5 separate regions of the Homo sapiens genome follow, and regions 1, 2, 3 and 5 are each linked to region 4. Evidence: promoter capture Hi-C in 16 types of primary human blood cells and fetal thymus (Javierre and others, 2016). All regions are on one chromosome and are shown on one strand. Each heading gives the region's core, a stretch centred on a gene start or on the middle of the fragment in contact. The rest is flanking DNA. Distances are from core to core; before and after follow the strand shown. Region 1 overlaps ANXA6 (annexin A6). Region 2 overlaps NDST1-AS1 (NDST1 antisense RNA 1). Region 3 overlaps CCDC69 (coiled-coil domain containing 69). Region 4 holds the start of DCTN4 (dynactin subunit 4). Region 5 overlaps LOC124901115 (a long non-coding RNA gene).

Region 1 (2,700 bases), core at 103-2,602, 370 kb after region 4:
GCTGCGGTGCGTGATGATATCGATGATTGTGTCTTCGTCAGTCCCTGAGTCACCAAAGCCACATGCCTCAGAAGAAGGCCTGTGGCTCTCGGCTTTCCCCATGCACCGCCCACTGATGGCCCCTCATCGATCTTTGTCAGGGTAGAAGCCTGGCTAAGCGGCCATGTGCTCCTGAGTCCCTGCAGTCCGCTTGCCTATGGCTCAGGCCACTGATTTCTGCTGGACTCCTCCCTCCCTTTCCTTTTGACACGCTGAGGAAAAAGGACAGCTGGGAGGTAGAGAGCACTGGGTTGGGAGTCAGTGCCTCTGAGTTCTAGTTCTGGCTCTGGCAATGGCTGCCCACCCTGGGCAAGTCCCCTTCCCTTGATGGGACTTGGTTTCCACATCTGTAACATGAAGAGGCTGGAGTAGTCACCAAGGGATCCTTCCAACCCTGACAGTCCAAGTCCTGTTAGCAACTCTATGTCCTTTCTCTTCAGCTCTCTGGAAGCTGGACCCTGAGTCCCTCTAACCACAGCAGGTTGACTCTGGAAGGCATTAGAATATCACTTCCTGCTTCTCAGATTAATGCCATCAACCACAGACCCAGCACAGGGGTCTTTCATGGCATTTTTACCTCTAGCATCCTACAGTCCCAGGCGAGCTTGGCAGGTATCATCATTCCCATGAGACACATGGAAAGGAGGCTCAGGAGGGTGATGGACTTAACCTAAAGCCTCCTGGGAGTTGCTGTCAGACAGATGGGGCAGAAAGGCAAAGAAAGCCAAACCCTAGATGGCCTGTCCCAGGCTGGACTTTCTGAGCACAGGCCCAGCTGATCTGAACCTGTGGGTGCAGTACTCTTCCCACTGGTGCCAAATATAGGTCTGAAAGACCTGCCCAGCAGGGCACACTCCCACCACAGAATGAGGGAGGGCTCTTGGGTTCCAGGGTCCACAGCCCTGATTTTACACATAGGGAAATTCAGACCCAGAGTGGCGGAGAGGCTCACCCAGAGTCACACGGTGAGTCAGCAGCAGAGCCAGGGCACCATGCCAATTTTGTGACCTGGTACTTTCTTCAGTGCCAGGATACTGCTTCCAGGAGGCTGGGGGACACCTTGGTCCCTGGAAAGGGCTTCTGCCAAGTTCCTTATGAACCCTCTCCTGCCCCTCCTCTCTATACTCTGGGAGCTAGGAGGGTGGAAACTTGAGATCAAGCCTTCCTCATCCTGCAGACTCTAATTTGAAACCTCACTCCATCCCCTGCCAGCCCACGGCCAAACCCACCACACCTGCTGCCCTGGAGACCAACCCTGCTCCCTTCCCATCCCCCATACCGAGTCCCTTCATGGCTTTCCGCAGCGCTTTGGCATCTGCGTCAGGGTTGAAGTCATTGGCTGGGCGCACAGTTCCCTTCAGCTGTGAGAAGCAGAAAGAGACTCAGCAGGTGTCTGAAGGCCCCCCTGGGGACCAGGCTGAAAGACAGCATGCGAGGGTGGGAAGCTCACCCCATGAGCCCAAACCAAGCGGCGTGGGTGGGGAAAGAGGCAGAGGTGAAGCCACAGCAGACAGACCCTGCACGAGAGCTGAGAGAGAGAGAGAGAGAGAGAGAGAAAGAGACAGAAAGATATAGAGAGAGGGAGAGAGGGACTCAGGGCTGGGAGCAGGGCAAGTCCTGATCAAGAGAAATTGGCTAGGCTCCCGCCTGCCACGGGATCTGCCTCGGTTCTAGTGCCCCTTGGCTGCTTATTCCACCGGGGCATCCCCAATTCTTCTGAATCCTACCCTGCCCCCGAGGCCCCCTCTGCCTCTTAAAGAGTCATTCCCCCTGAAAAGGCAGCAGAAAAGTTCTGAAATACCAGAACAGAGTTTCCCAAATTTCAGTCACTCCTAAAGGACTTTCACTATTCCAAATTAGCACACACACTATGCCATCTCTTAATGGTTTTATGTAATTCAACTTCTTTTCTGTCTACTTAAATGCATCAATTTTTGAAGTGCATTTAAAATTACTCCCAAAAGGCAAGGAATTGTATCCGTTTTATCCTGTTACATATCCCAGGTGCCTACAACAGTGTCTGACATAATAGGCACACTCAAAAAATAATTGTTAAGTGGATTAATGAGGCTTGGCACAATGGCTCATGCCTGTAATCTCAGCACTTTGGGAGGCCAAGGCAGGAGGATCGCTTGAGCCCATTGGTTCAAGATGAGCCCAGGCAACATGGTGAAACCCTGTCTCTACACAAATTAGCCAGGTGTGGTGGTGTCCACCTGAGGTCCCAGCTACTTGGGAAGCTAAGTGGAAGGATCACCTGAGCCTGGGGAGGTGGCAGTGAGCCATGATCATGCCACTGTACTCCAGCCTGGATAACAGAGTGAGACCCTGTCTCAAAAAAAAAAAAAAAAAAAGGAATGGATGAAATTAATTTTATATAACTACCATGAATTAGGAAGTTGATACCATGTATCATAAACTGACAATTTACCACAAAAATCAACATAATAAAAACAAAAGAGGTGATATACCATGAAATTTAACATGATGCCTCTACTTGCCAGAAGCTCTGAAACTTAAAGCGAGCTCTCTCAGCTTTCTCTTTGTGAAAAAGGAAAATCAGCAAGTGTTGCAGAGACGGCGGCACCAAACCAAGACTTCCTCTTTGACGTAATCAGAAACGCTGATGAAATTGGAAAGGAGTGCCTTTCTCATTCACTC
Region 2 (2,700 bases), core at 60-2,559, 280 kb before region 4:
TTCTCCTGCGTCAGCCTCCCAAGTAGCTGGGATTACAGGCACCCGCCACCATGCCCGGCTAATTTTTTTTTTTGTATTTTTAATAGAGATGGGGTTTCACCATGTTGGCCAGGCTGGTCTCGAACTCCTGACCTCGTGATTCACCCGCCTCGGCCTCCCAAAGAGCTGGGATTACAGGCGTGAGCCACCGCGCCTGGACTTTTTTTTTTTTTTTTGAAACGGATGGAGTCTTGCTCTGTCACCCAGGCTGGAGTGCAGTGGCGCAATCTCGGCTCACCGCAACCTCTGCCTCCCAGGTTCAAGCGATTCTCTTGCCTCAGCCTCCCGAGTAGCTGGGATTACATACGTGCGTCACCATGCCTGGCTAATTTTTGTATTTTTAGTAGAGACCAGGTTTCACCATGTTGGCCAGGCTGGTCTTGAACTCCTGACCTCAGGTGATCCGCCCGCCTTGGCCTCCCAAAGTTCTGGGATTATAGGCATTAGACACTGCACCCGGCAATTCTTTTTTTTTTAAGAGACAAGGTCTCACCCTGTTACCCAGGCTAGAGTGCAGTGATGTCATCATGGCTCACTGCAGCCTCGATCTTCCAGGCTCAAGTGATCCTCCTACCTCAGCCTCTCAAGTACCTGGGACCACAGGCGCACAACACTATGCCTAGAGTATGTATGTATGTAGAGACGGGATCTCCCTATGTTACCCAGGCTGGTCTTGAACTCCTGGGCTCAAGTGATCCTCCTGCCTCAGCTCAGCCACTGTGCCCAGCCTCTGCAAAATTTTTCTTTTTAAATTAGGTGGCACGTGCCTGTAATTCCAGCTACTCAGGTGGCTGATGTGGGAGGATTGCTTGAGCCTGGGAGGTCCAGGCTGCAGTGGGCCATGATCACACCACTGCACTCCAACCTTGGCCACAGAACAAGACCCTGTTAAAAAAAGAAAGAAAGGAAGAAGGGAGGGAGGGAGGGAGAGAGACAGAAAAGTAGCTTGCTGGGAACTGGTGGTGCTGGCTGAAGTAGGCAACAGTGTTTGTTTTCAGTTACTTTTCACTTTCATTGTTCCAAAGACCAGCCCCAGCCTCCTAGGAAACAAAATTGTTACAGACTAAAACAACGTGGTTACACTGCGTTGTATCTTCCTATGCATTACGGCACTTTCTCACAGTGGACCGTATAGTCTTTGAGGACAGGAACCACATCTATCTTATTCATCTCTGTGTCTCCCTATTTCCCTTCTGCCACCAGGATGGTGTGAGGAAGACTATAGAAGAGGCACTAATAATTGTTGAATGAAGAGTGAAGTACCATTGATGGGCATTTTGTTAGGTAGACAGTGTCCTCTGTTTCATAATGAACCTGTGAACTTTCATTTCATCTGTTTATTCAGCAAGTATGTGCTGGTTGCCTACAATGTGCCTGGTGCTGTTTGGGGCACTGGGGCTCAGGGCGTCTGAGACACACACAGTCCTGCCCACATGGAGCTCACAATCTAGAGGGAGAGAGTGGCAGCTGACAGGTAACTACGAGGGTGATAAAGAGGGAGATGTGAAGTGTATACAGGAAGCCTGGTTTGGATTAGGGTCTGAGGAAAAGCCCAGGAGGAAATTAAGTTTAATTGGAGACTTATAGCTGGGGATGGTGGCATGTACCTGTGGTCCCAGATACTAGAGATGCTGAGATGGGAGGATTGCTTGAGTGCAAGAGTTTGAGGCTGCAGCAAGCTGTGATCTTGCTCACCGTACTTCAGCCCAGATGACACAGCGAGAGCCTGACACATTTAAAAAAAAAAAAAAAAAAAAAAAAGGCTGGTAATCCCAGCACTTTAGGAGGCCGAGGCAGGCAGAGACAGGCAGATTGCTTGAGCTCAGGAGTTCAAGACCAGCCTGGGCAACATGGTGAAACTCTGTCTCTATAAAAAATTAAAAATTAGCTGGGCTTGGTGGCATATGCCTGAAGTCCGAGCTACTTGGGAGGCTGAGGTGGGAGGATTGCTTGAGCCTGGAAGGTCAAGGCTGCAGGGAGCCGTGATCACACCACTGCACTCCAGCCTGCAGGAAAAAAAGAAAAAAGAAAAAAAGAAAAAAAAAAATCTCAGACCTAAAGGATCACAATGAATCATTCATCTAACATTTAAACAGTCAACCCTCTATACCCACAGATTCTGAATCTGTGGATTCGACCGACCATGGATCGAAAACATATTTTAAAAAATTGTCTGTATTGAACATGTGCAGACTTTTTTTGGGTCATTATTCTCTAAAAAATATAGCAATTCTTTGCATACAATTTACATTGTATTAGGTATTACAAGTAATCTAGAGATGATTTAAAGTATATGGGAGGATGTACATAGGTTATATGCAAATATTAAGCCATTTTATATCAGGGATATCCACACATTTTGATATCCATGAAATGTCCTGGAATCATTCCCCCATGGATACTGAGGGACAACTGTAACTGTACAGTGCTTGTCCTATAACAGATAACACACTAAGGGCTTTACATATTTAACTTATGTAATTCTCACAACAGCCCTGGGAGGTATGTTGTACTATTATTATCTACACTTTAGAGAGGAGGGCTGACCACAGAAAGTTTGAAAAACTGGCCCAAAGTCACATAGTTTATATGTGGCAGAGTCAGGATTCAAACCCAGGAAGCCTGGCTTGAGTCCATACTTTATTTTATTTATTTTTTTAT
Region 3 (2,700 bases), core at 23-2,522, 450 kb after region 4:
TGAAGAGGCTATGAAAATGTTCGACAAAAATTATTAAAAATGTCCTAAACTGAAGAACCACTGAAATACTTCTAGAAAGCATGCTTCTCACTGGGGAGGGAAGATGTATCAAGGGAAGTCTTCTAGAATAGCCTGCTTCTCCCCCATGGTGCTGGGCACAGAGCCTGGCATGTGTAAGCCCCTGGAGGACTGAGGGAGTCATGGGGCCTCCCCCAGGTCCTCGTGCCCCAAATCTGCTGAGTGGCTGGGCAGACCTGACAATTTAGCTCCCCCACCACCCTGGTGAAGACTCAATCCTCCCTTTCCAGGGAAGAGGAGGAAGCCTGGTCCAGGCACGACTCAGAGAAGCTGTCAACTCCGGAATCTGGGGAAGTGACAGCAGCCAGCCTCCCCACCCTGGGCTGGAGGAAGAAGGGAGATAAACATAAATGGTTGTCTCTTCCTTGTTGCCACGACTGATTAGCTGAACTCAGACAATGTTTTTATGGGAGCCAGAAGGCCTAGATTCTAGTGCCAGCTCTGTTACAAACTTGGGCAAATCCCTTCCCACTCTGGCTTCTGCTTCCTCCTCTGTGAGGTGGGGATGAGGACGTCTGGTGGTTTAACTGGATGATCCCATAGTGTTCAAACTCTAAGCTCTCATCTCAGCTCCTCTCAACAGCACTGTGAGGTAAAGGTCACTACAGGCGAGGAAACTGAGGCTCAGGGAGACTTAAGACACTGTCACACTGTGCCATAATGTTCAAATCAGCATTAGAACCAGGTGTGAGAATATCAGAGACTGCAGAGCAGAGTGGTTAAGAACTCCAGAATTCTAGAATCACACAGATCTGGGTTCAAATACTAAATCCAACACCGTGTGACTGTATGACCTCTCCATGCCTCGGATTTCTCATGAGGCTCTTTTAGGATGAGATGAAATAATGCAACTGCAGTGTCTTGCACATACTAAGAGCTCAAATATTGCATAAGACGATTGCCATGTTTCACAAACATGGCAAGAACAAAGATCCCACGTCATCTGCTTTGGCAGACCTCTTGGGCTGCCCCTGGGTCTCAGTTTTGTCATCTGAAATAAGTTCATAATCTCATGAAATGCTGCCTTCTTTCAGATAACCACCACCAGAGAATGGTGGAGAACTCTTTTCCACAAACAGCTTTCAGACCACAGGCAGCACGTGGCCTTGTACTTGAGTCCCCAGCTCTTGACAAAACAAGATAACTCCTTCAGAATGGCAGTTAAGGCTATCACCATCTGTCCCCAGTCTACCCCCATTCCAATTTCTTTCTTTTTCTTCTGTCTTTTTTTTTTTGAGATGGGGTCTTGCTCTGTTGCCCAGGCTGGAGTGCAGTGGTGTGATCAGGGCTCACTGCAACCTCCGCCTCCCAGGCTCAAGCAATTCTCCTGCCTCAGCCTCCCAAGTAGCTGGGACTACAGGCGTGTGCTACCACACCTGGCTAATTTTTGTATTTTTGGTAGAGATGGAATTTTGCCATGCTGCTCAGGATGGTCTCGGACTCCTAGGCTCAAGTGATTTGCCTGCCTTGGCCTTCCAAAGTACTGGGATTACAGGCATGAGCCAAGGTACCCAGCCTCAATTTCTTAATACTTAAATTATTTATAAACATCTTCTTCCAGTTAAAGTACTAGTAGGCATTTGTTGTAGAAAGTACAGAAAATACATGAAAATATAGAAAGAAAATCTCACGACCCAGAGAGAACCCCATAACCTGGTGGCATATATTGTTCATCTACATATACATATGCAATGATATTACATATACTTCCTCATATCTTACTTTTTCAAATATATTACGAGCACTTACTACACAGCATTAACTATTCTGCAAATGTGTTAATTTTAATGATGAGCAGAACATCCCTATGGATGAATTTAGTCATTCACTGTTGAGTGTTTAAATTGTTTCCACTTTTTAATTTGCAGGTTAATTTGCTTTAATAAATATATTGATTTAGGCCAGGTGCGGTGGCTCATGCCTATAATCCTAGCACTTTGGGAGGCAGAGGTGGGTGGATCATTTGAGGTCAGGAGTTCGAGACTAGCCTGGCCAACCTGTGAAACCCCGTCTCTACTAAAAATACAAAAATTAGCCAGGCGGTAGTGGCATGCGCCTCTAACCCCAGCTACTTGGGAAGCTGAGGCAGGAGAATTGCTTGAACCCAGGAGGTGGAGGTTGCAGTGAGCCAAGATCGCACCACTGCACTCCAGTCTGGGCGACAGAGTGAGACCCTGTCCCAAAAAATAAAAAATTAAAATTAAAATTAAAAAATAAACATATTGATTTGTAAAATTTTATACACATCTAATATTACATGTCTAATATTGGAAGGTTCGACCAATTTACTCACCTTCAAATGGCACGCAAGAAGATCAGTTTCAGCTAGGTGTGGTAGCTCACACCTGTAATCCTAGCACTTTAGGAGGCCGAGGCGGGAGGATCACTTGAAGCCAGGAGTTTGAGACCAGCCTGGCCAACATGACAAAACCCCATCTCTACTAAAAATACAAAAATTAGCCAGGTGTGGTGGCACGTGCCTGTAATCTCAGCTACTTGGGATGCTGAGGCACGAGATTTGTTTGAACCTGGGAGGCGGAGGTTGCAGTGAACTGAGATTGGGCCACTGCACTCCACCCTGGGTGACAGAGCAAGACTGTCTCAAGAAAAAAGAAAAAGACC
Region 4 (2,700 bases), core at 76-2,575:
CGATTTTTCTTGTATTATTTAATTGCTTTTCTTGACTATTCCTATTATGAAAAGTATCTTCAATAAAATAAGTTATTAATAACACATAAAATGGCTTATAGTATGTGTTTTCATATGCATTTATTTTAACAGTCCCGGGATCTTCAGTAAAAAACACTCTGAGTTAGGCTGTTTAGATTCAAATCCAGGTCCTCCTTCCCACCCCCAAATTACTGGCTGTGTGACTTACAGCGAACACTCTGTATCTGTTTCTTTACCTGTAAAAAAAATTTTTTAAAAAAAGTATCCACTTAAATTGGTTTGAAGATTACATAAAGCACATGACATATAGCAAGTATCGAATAAGCAGCAACTATTACTACTATCAGCTTTTTCTTCACTAAGACTATGGCTTATTAAACAGCGCATTTTATGTCTTACTCGCCTTTTAATCCCTAAAGCTTACTGAATAAACAAGATGTGCCAAGCGCTGCAGAAGTTTTGGGGTTTTGTTATTTGGTGACTTTTTACTGGCCGGGGTCTTCTTTTTGAAAAATCCAACTTCGGACGCCCACTTGTGCCAGGGAAGGACAGCATTGTCCTCTAGCTCCATAAATACACTTTCAGCTTCTTACATGACATACTGTATTCTGAGCGCTTTTCACATAACTCACGCCGCCCCAACCTCTTCCCGGCTGCAGGCCTTGGCCTGAGTCAGGAACAGGGCAAGGCAGTCTGACGAGGGCCCAGTTTCTGGACAAAAGAGGAACAGAACTTTCAGGATGGGAGAACTATGAATGAGAACGCCTGCGCCTCCCTCCATCCTCGCAATAAATCCTGGAAAGGCAGTTTTTCGCCCCTTAAGTGGCCTGAACTAAGCACCCCCAGACCTTTCTCCGTAGTCCACCCAATTACCAAGCCCCATCGCAGACAGACACGGTCCCTAAGTCAAGTTTGTCCAATCAGAGGCCGCTCTAGAACCAGAAGATCCGCTCAGTCCCACCCGAGGCTGCTCCTCCTTTCCAAGTGACAGATTAGAAGCAAATTAAATCGCAGGCAAACCCGAGTGACGGAAGACATAACCAATCAGTAAGGAAGGAAAATAGCTCCAGCCTTCCGGTGGCAGTGACTAGCATGAACGCCGCGCCCCCCCCACCCCACATACTCGCTATAGGGCGACTCTGTTACCTCGTGAGACACACATTCCAGCGACCGCAGTTCGCTACAATAGCGGCAGAAGTAGAGTTGCGAGAGCGGGGCCCGAACCTTCTTTTCTCCCTGGACTAGATAGAGAACCCGGTCCGACTGCAGCAAGGACGCCATCTTGGGGAGGGAGGAGGCGATGACGCTCCCGGCGCATCACGTGACCCGAGAGCCAGCGTCTTCCTCGCTGCCTTCCCTACGACTTCCTACGTAGACTTTGACGTTAGGTTTCCCACCTCGTCCGGCTCTGCGCCCGTCGAAAACCAGAGCGCGCGTGCGCAGCTGGGATCCCTGTTTTCTCCCCAACTCTGGGCCCGTCCCCCAGCGCTTTTGTGAGCGTCCACTGCCCTTACTGCCATTAGGTCTGGACTCAGTGAGCTCCTTTTATTCTTTTCTTCCAGAATGGAAGCCTGATCTTTTGTCTTATTTACGACGGCCTCCTCTGCCCCACTTAACAGGCGAGCATCCAGGAGACAAATGGAAGGTCTCAAAGGGACAGGGCTCCGTGGGGACTGCAAGACAGGAGTCACACCAGCACTGTCTTCTGAGTCTTGCCAATGGCCTTTGGGAACTTTCACATACATTATCTCATTTGAAACGCAGGTTTTTGAGTACATAGTTAGCGTTAGGTCTAAGTCTGTATTGTGGACCTTCAATAAGTATGAAAAGGAGGGAATGAAATCAATGAATGAACAATGTTGGTAGGCGTCTACGTTTTTCTAATGTGTAAACTAAGGCTCAGGTCTGCCTCTTGGGTGAGCAGCGACTACGTGAGACTGGTATTACATGGGTGGGAAAATAATTTATCAACAGTTTTAGGTAAAGAAATGCAGATTTATTAGAGAAGGTATGAAAATACGTTGAAAGGTTGCAATGGGCAGACCAGCCAGAGAGGAGCTGACTTCAAGGAAACAAAGGCTTGCTGGAGATTTTATCCGATGGTTCTTGGGCTGCAGAGTGCTGTGCAGTACCGAGAACTCCAAGGTTACAGGGAGCTAACTTGCATGTGTCTCGTGATAGCTGAGTGCAGGAAGATTGTGAGTTATTTGCACAGGAGGGCTACGTGTCCTGCACCATGAAGAAAGGCAGACTTAGAGTGCATCTGCTCTTCTTGCTATCCCTTGGTCCCACTAGCCTGACTCCCTTTCTCTAACTGGGACTCCCCAGTATGTAAAATGACCACCTAGAACTGCCTAGCAGAAACTGGAGCCTCTGTTGCCTGCCACCAGGTCTACATTTTTATAATTGTAGTAGTGTTGTATTATTACCTGTCTGACGTTAGAGTTGGTGATTGAGAAGAAAGGGAACTGAATACTATTAGCAAACATTTATTGAGCACTTATTAAGTGCAGCACACTGTGTCAAAACTTTACATACATTGTCTAATTTAATTCTTACAACAGCTCCAAAAAGCATGTGGCTATCATTATTTCTATTTTACAGAGCAGGAAACTGAGGCACAGGGAAGTGCAGTGACTCCTCTATAAGGTTTCATAGATGGAGGTAGAACCCTTTTCT
Region 5 (2,700 bases), core at 125-2,624, 490 kb after region 4:
TCTTCAAGCTGTATTTTGACTGGCACTGCTGTTTTAGCCTTCCTCAGTTTTCTAGTATACAATGCCAGCAGGTTAACCTGTTTATTAATGTGGTCTTGGACATTGTCTGTATTTTTGACTATTAGCAATTTCACTGGGTGATGCTTAAATTGTAGTAGTGCCCTTATTTTAACCATAATCTCTCTTCCCAGCAGGGGGATTGCGTAGCTTGATACTACTAGGCACTCCTGTTGGAAGATTCGTTTCTCAAATTGACAAATCAAAGGAGGAGTAAAAAATCTGGTTTGTGGCTTCCCTTCCATTCCCATAACACTCATGGACCAGGAGGGAAGTTTCCCTGCATAAGCAGTAAGGACAGTGTAATTTGCCCCTGTAACAAAAAGAAACTGAATTTGGGTGCCCGTGACATCCAGAGTTACTCCAGGCTCCCCAGTAGTAATTACAAAGTTCCTGGACAGGGGCAGTGAGGAAGACCCCGGGCCCCTTCAGTCTTCATCTGATTCCTCCTTTCGCACTGCTAGAGTTTTGCCTAACCCAGCCCCTCAGTGGGAGCAGAGGCAATCAATTCTCCAGTGCCAGGGTTCGTGACTGGTGCCTTTGCGTTGACAGCAGGGGCCTGAGGGGAGCTGGAGGGCGGGGGCTTAGTACATTCCTTTGCCCAATGCCCGCTTTTCTTGCATTTGAAGCAAGACTTGCCTTTGCTGGTATTATCTTTATAGTCCTTCGGGTTTCCCTTAGATGCTCTTTGGGCATTCAGGGCATCACCAATGATGGCTGCCATAATTTTGGCTTGCCGTCTTTCTTTACTCTGTTCTCTTTTTCCTTCCTCCAGGTCATATTGTTATACACCATAAAGGCAGTATTAAGAAGCTGATTTTGATTAGCTTGTGGCCCCATCTGTAGCTTTTGGAGTTTACGTCTGATATCTGGGGCAGATTGGCTAATGAAATGCTGTGCCATTAATATTTTGCCTTCGGGAGAAGAAGGGTCCAGATTAGTATATATTTAAAGGCTTCCTCCAGCCTACCATAAAACATGGCTGGATTTTCCTCCTTGCCTTATGTAACCTCCCTTACTTTATCATAATTTACTGCCTTAGTTAATCCCTTTCTCATTCCTCCAAGGACAGCCTCAAGAAATTTAGCCAGGTGGTTCATTCCCATGGGGGCGTTATAGTTTCAATTAGGATCAGTAGTGGGAACTGTGTCTGGGCCTCGGTAATTGCCCTGAGGGTTTCAGGTGGATAATTCATCCACTTCCCTGCTGGCAGCCTCAAAGATTTGTTCCTTTCCTGAGGGAGTGCCAACAGGTTGCTAGAATGAATTGACCATCTCTCCATGAGAGATCAAAGGCTAAGGTCAAAGTGTGGAACTCATCTGCAAATTTCCTAGGATTCTCAGAACAGCTTCCTAGCTTTTCCTTACATTGTTGAATATTAGTTATAGAGAAGGGGGCCTGCACTAGGACTGGCCCCTCAACTCCTGCTACTTCCCTAAGGTGTAGCAGGGCTGGAAGAAGAGCTGAATACAGGGTTCCCCTCCGAATGTGAGGGGGACTTAGTAGGGTCTCTGGTGTTTGCTCCTGGGGTTGAGCCTCAGGAGCACTTGCAAGGGGCTATATGGGGGTGGTCACTGTTCACTCTGAGAGACAGGTGGCCCTTGTAAGAGGGGGTCATCTATAATATGTAGTTCTCCCTTAGAACTTTCCTTTGTGGGGTGGGTTCTGGGAGTTTCACAGATTGTTAGGTTTTGGTAAAGCGTCATGGAAGTCTGCATGTACAAGATTTCTGACCATGTGCTCTGTCTCTTGCAAAATAGGTCTAATTGCAGGATGATGTCATAATTAAGGCTACCATTGACTACCCATTTTTTCCAGGCTGGGCAGCTCATAATGGAGCCAGACAGTACTGCAGAAAAAAATTATATGTTTTCTCTTTAGATTGTCAGGGTCAAATTGATCGCAATGGTGGAGGACGTAGCCGAGCGGGGAATCAGGTGGAATAGGTAGAGAGTTGCCCACAGTGGTCTGGAAAAGAGAAGAGGACTGACCAGGTGACCCAAATTTTACCTGAGGCATCCTCCTGGAAAAATTCTGGGCCCAGACTGGGGTCCCTGGGAGCATCTCCCCATTAGGGCCCTGACTTAGCCTGTTAGATGTCTCTGACCTTAGATAGGTGCAGGCATTGCTTTGGAATGGTTCCCTCCACCACTGAAGACCTACTGTGAACTTTCCTTAAGGTTTTCCCATGCCACTTAAAGCAACTTTTTTTTTTTTTTGAGACAGGGTCTTGCTCTGTTGCCCAGGCTGGAGTGCAGTGGCATGATCTCGGCTCGCTGCAAGCTCTGCCTCCCAGGTTCATGCCATTCTCCTGCCTCAGCCTCCGAGTAGCTGGGACTACAGGCGCCGACCACCATGCCTGGCTAATTTTTTGTATATTTAGTAGAGATGGCGTTTCACCGTGTTAGCCAGGATGGTCTCAATCTCCTGACCTCGTGATCCGCCTGCCTCGGCCTCCCAAAGTGCTGGGATTACAGGCGTGAGCCACCGCAGCCGGCAAAGCAACCCTTTAACTCTCTCAATTTAGGCAATAATAGATTACCTTTCATGAATTCCCCCCACTCCCCATGCATCACACAGACCACCTACGACATGCCTGGACCCTCTGACTCATATAACCTTTTTGCATAGCTAGGTGGGTTT

The links. The method cuts DNA at HindIII sites, captures the fragments that hold promoters and counts their contacts. A CHiCAGO score of 5 or more calls a contact.
Region 1: a contact is called between a fragment that was not itself captured here and the fragment with the promoter of DCTN4 in region 4, in 4 of 17 cell types (naive CD8 T cells, naive CD4 T cells, fetal thymus and 1 more). The highest score is 7.3, in naive CD8 T cells.
Region 2: a fragment that was not itself captured here is called in contact with the fragment with the promoter of DCTN4 in region 4 in 1 of 17 cell types (neutrophils); the score reaches 6.5 in neutrophils.
Region 3: a fragment that was not itself captured here is called in contact with the fragment with the promoter of DCTN4 in region 4 in 1 of 17 cell types (fetal thymus); the score reaches 5.0 in fetal thymus.
Region 5: a fragment that was not itself captured here is called in contact with the fragment with the promoter of DCTN4 in region 4 in 1 of 17 cell types (naive CD8 T cells); the score reaches 5.3 in naive CD8 T cells.

Annotation. Positions count from the first base shown.
Region 1 is chr5:151,122,968-151,125,667 of GRCh38, forward strand. It overlaps ANXA6 (annexin A6), which reads right to left. Exons shown (of 26, transcript NM_001155.5): 15 at 1,319-1,400; 16 at 1-44. Among named protein-coding and RNA genes, the nearest start is that of ANXA6, 33 kb to the right of the region's middle. RefSeq lists an enhancer at 878-1,378. The HindIII fragment of the contact is 3,901 bases long and covers 1-2,700 here.
Region 2 is chr5:150,478,152-150,480,851 of GRCh38, forward strand. All of the region lies in intron 2 of NDST1-AS1 (NDST1 antisense RNA 1), which reads right to left. Among named protein-coding and RNA genes, the nearest start is that of NDST1-AS1, 6.5 kb to the right of the region's middle. The HindIII fragment of the contact is 7,537 bases long and covers 1-2,700 here.
Region 3 is chr5:151,208,285-151,210,984 of GRCh38, forward strand. All of the region lies in intron 1 of CCDC69 (coiled-coil domain containing 69), which reads right to left. Among named protein-coding and RNA genes, the nearest start is that of CCDC69, 14 kb to the right of the region's middle. The HindIII fragment of the contact is 3,784 bases long and covers 1-2,700 here.
Region 4 is chr5:150,757,692-150,760,391 of GRCh38, forward strand. It overlaps DCTN4 (dynactin subunit 4), which reads right to left and starts at 1,326. Exons shown (of 13, transcript NM_016221.4): 1 at 1,168-1,326. The coding sequence starts at 1,302. RefSeq lists enhancers at 602-671, 1,102-1,401. The HindIII fragment of the contact is 18,997 bases long and covers 439-2,700 here.
Region 5 is chr5:151,247,655-151,250,354 of GRCh38, forward strand. LOC124901115 (a long non-coding RNA gene) reads right to left here. Exons shown (of 3, transcript XR_007059003.1): 3 at 1-2,025. Among named protein-coding and RNA genes, the nearest start is that of GM2A, 4.2 kb to the right of the region's middle. The HindIII fragment of the contact is 3,862 bases long and covers 1-2,700 here.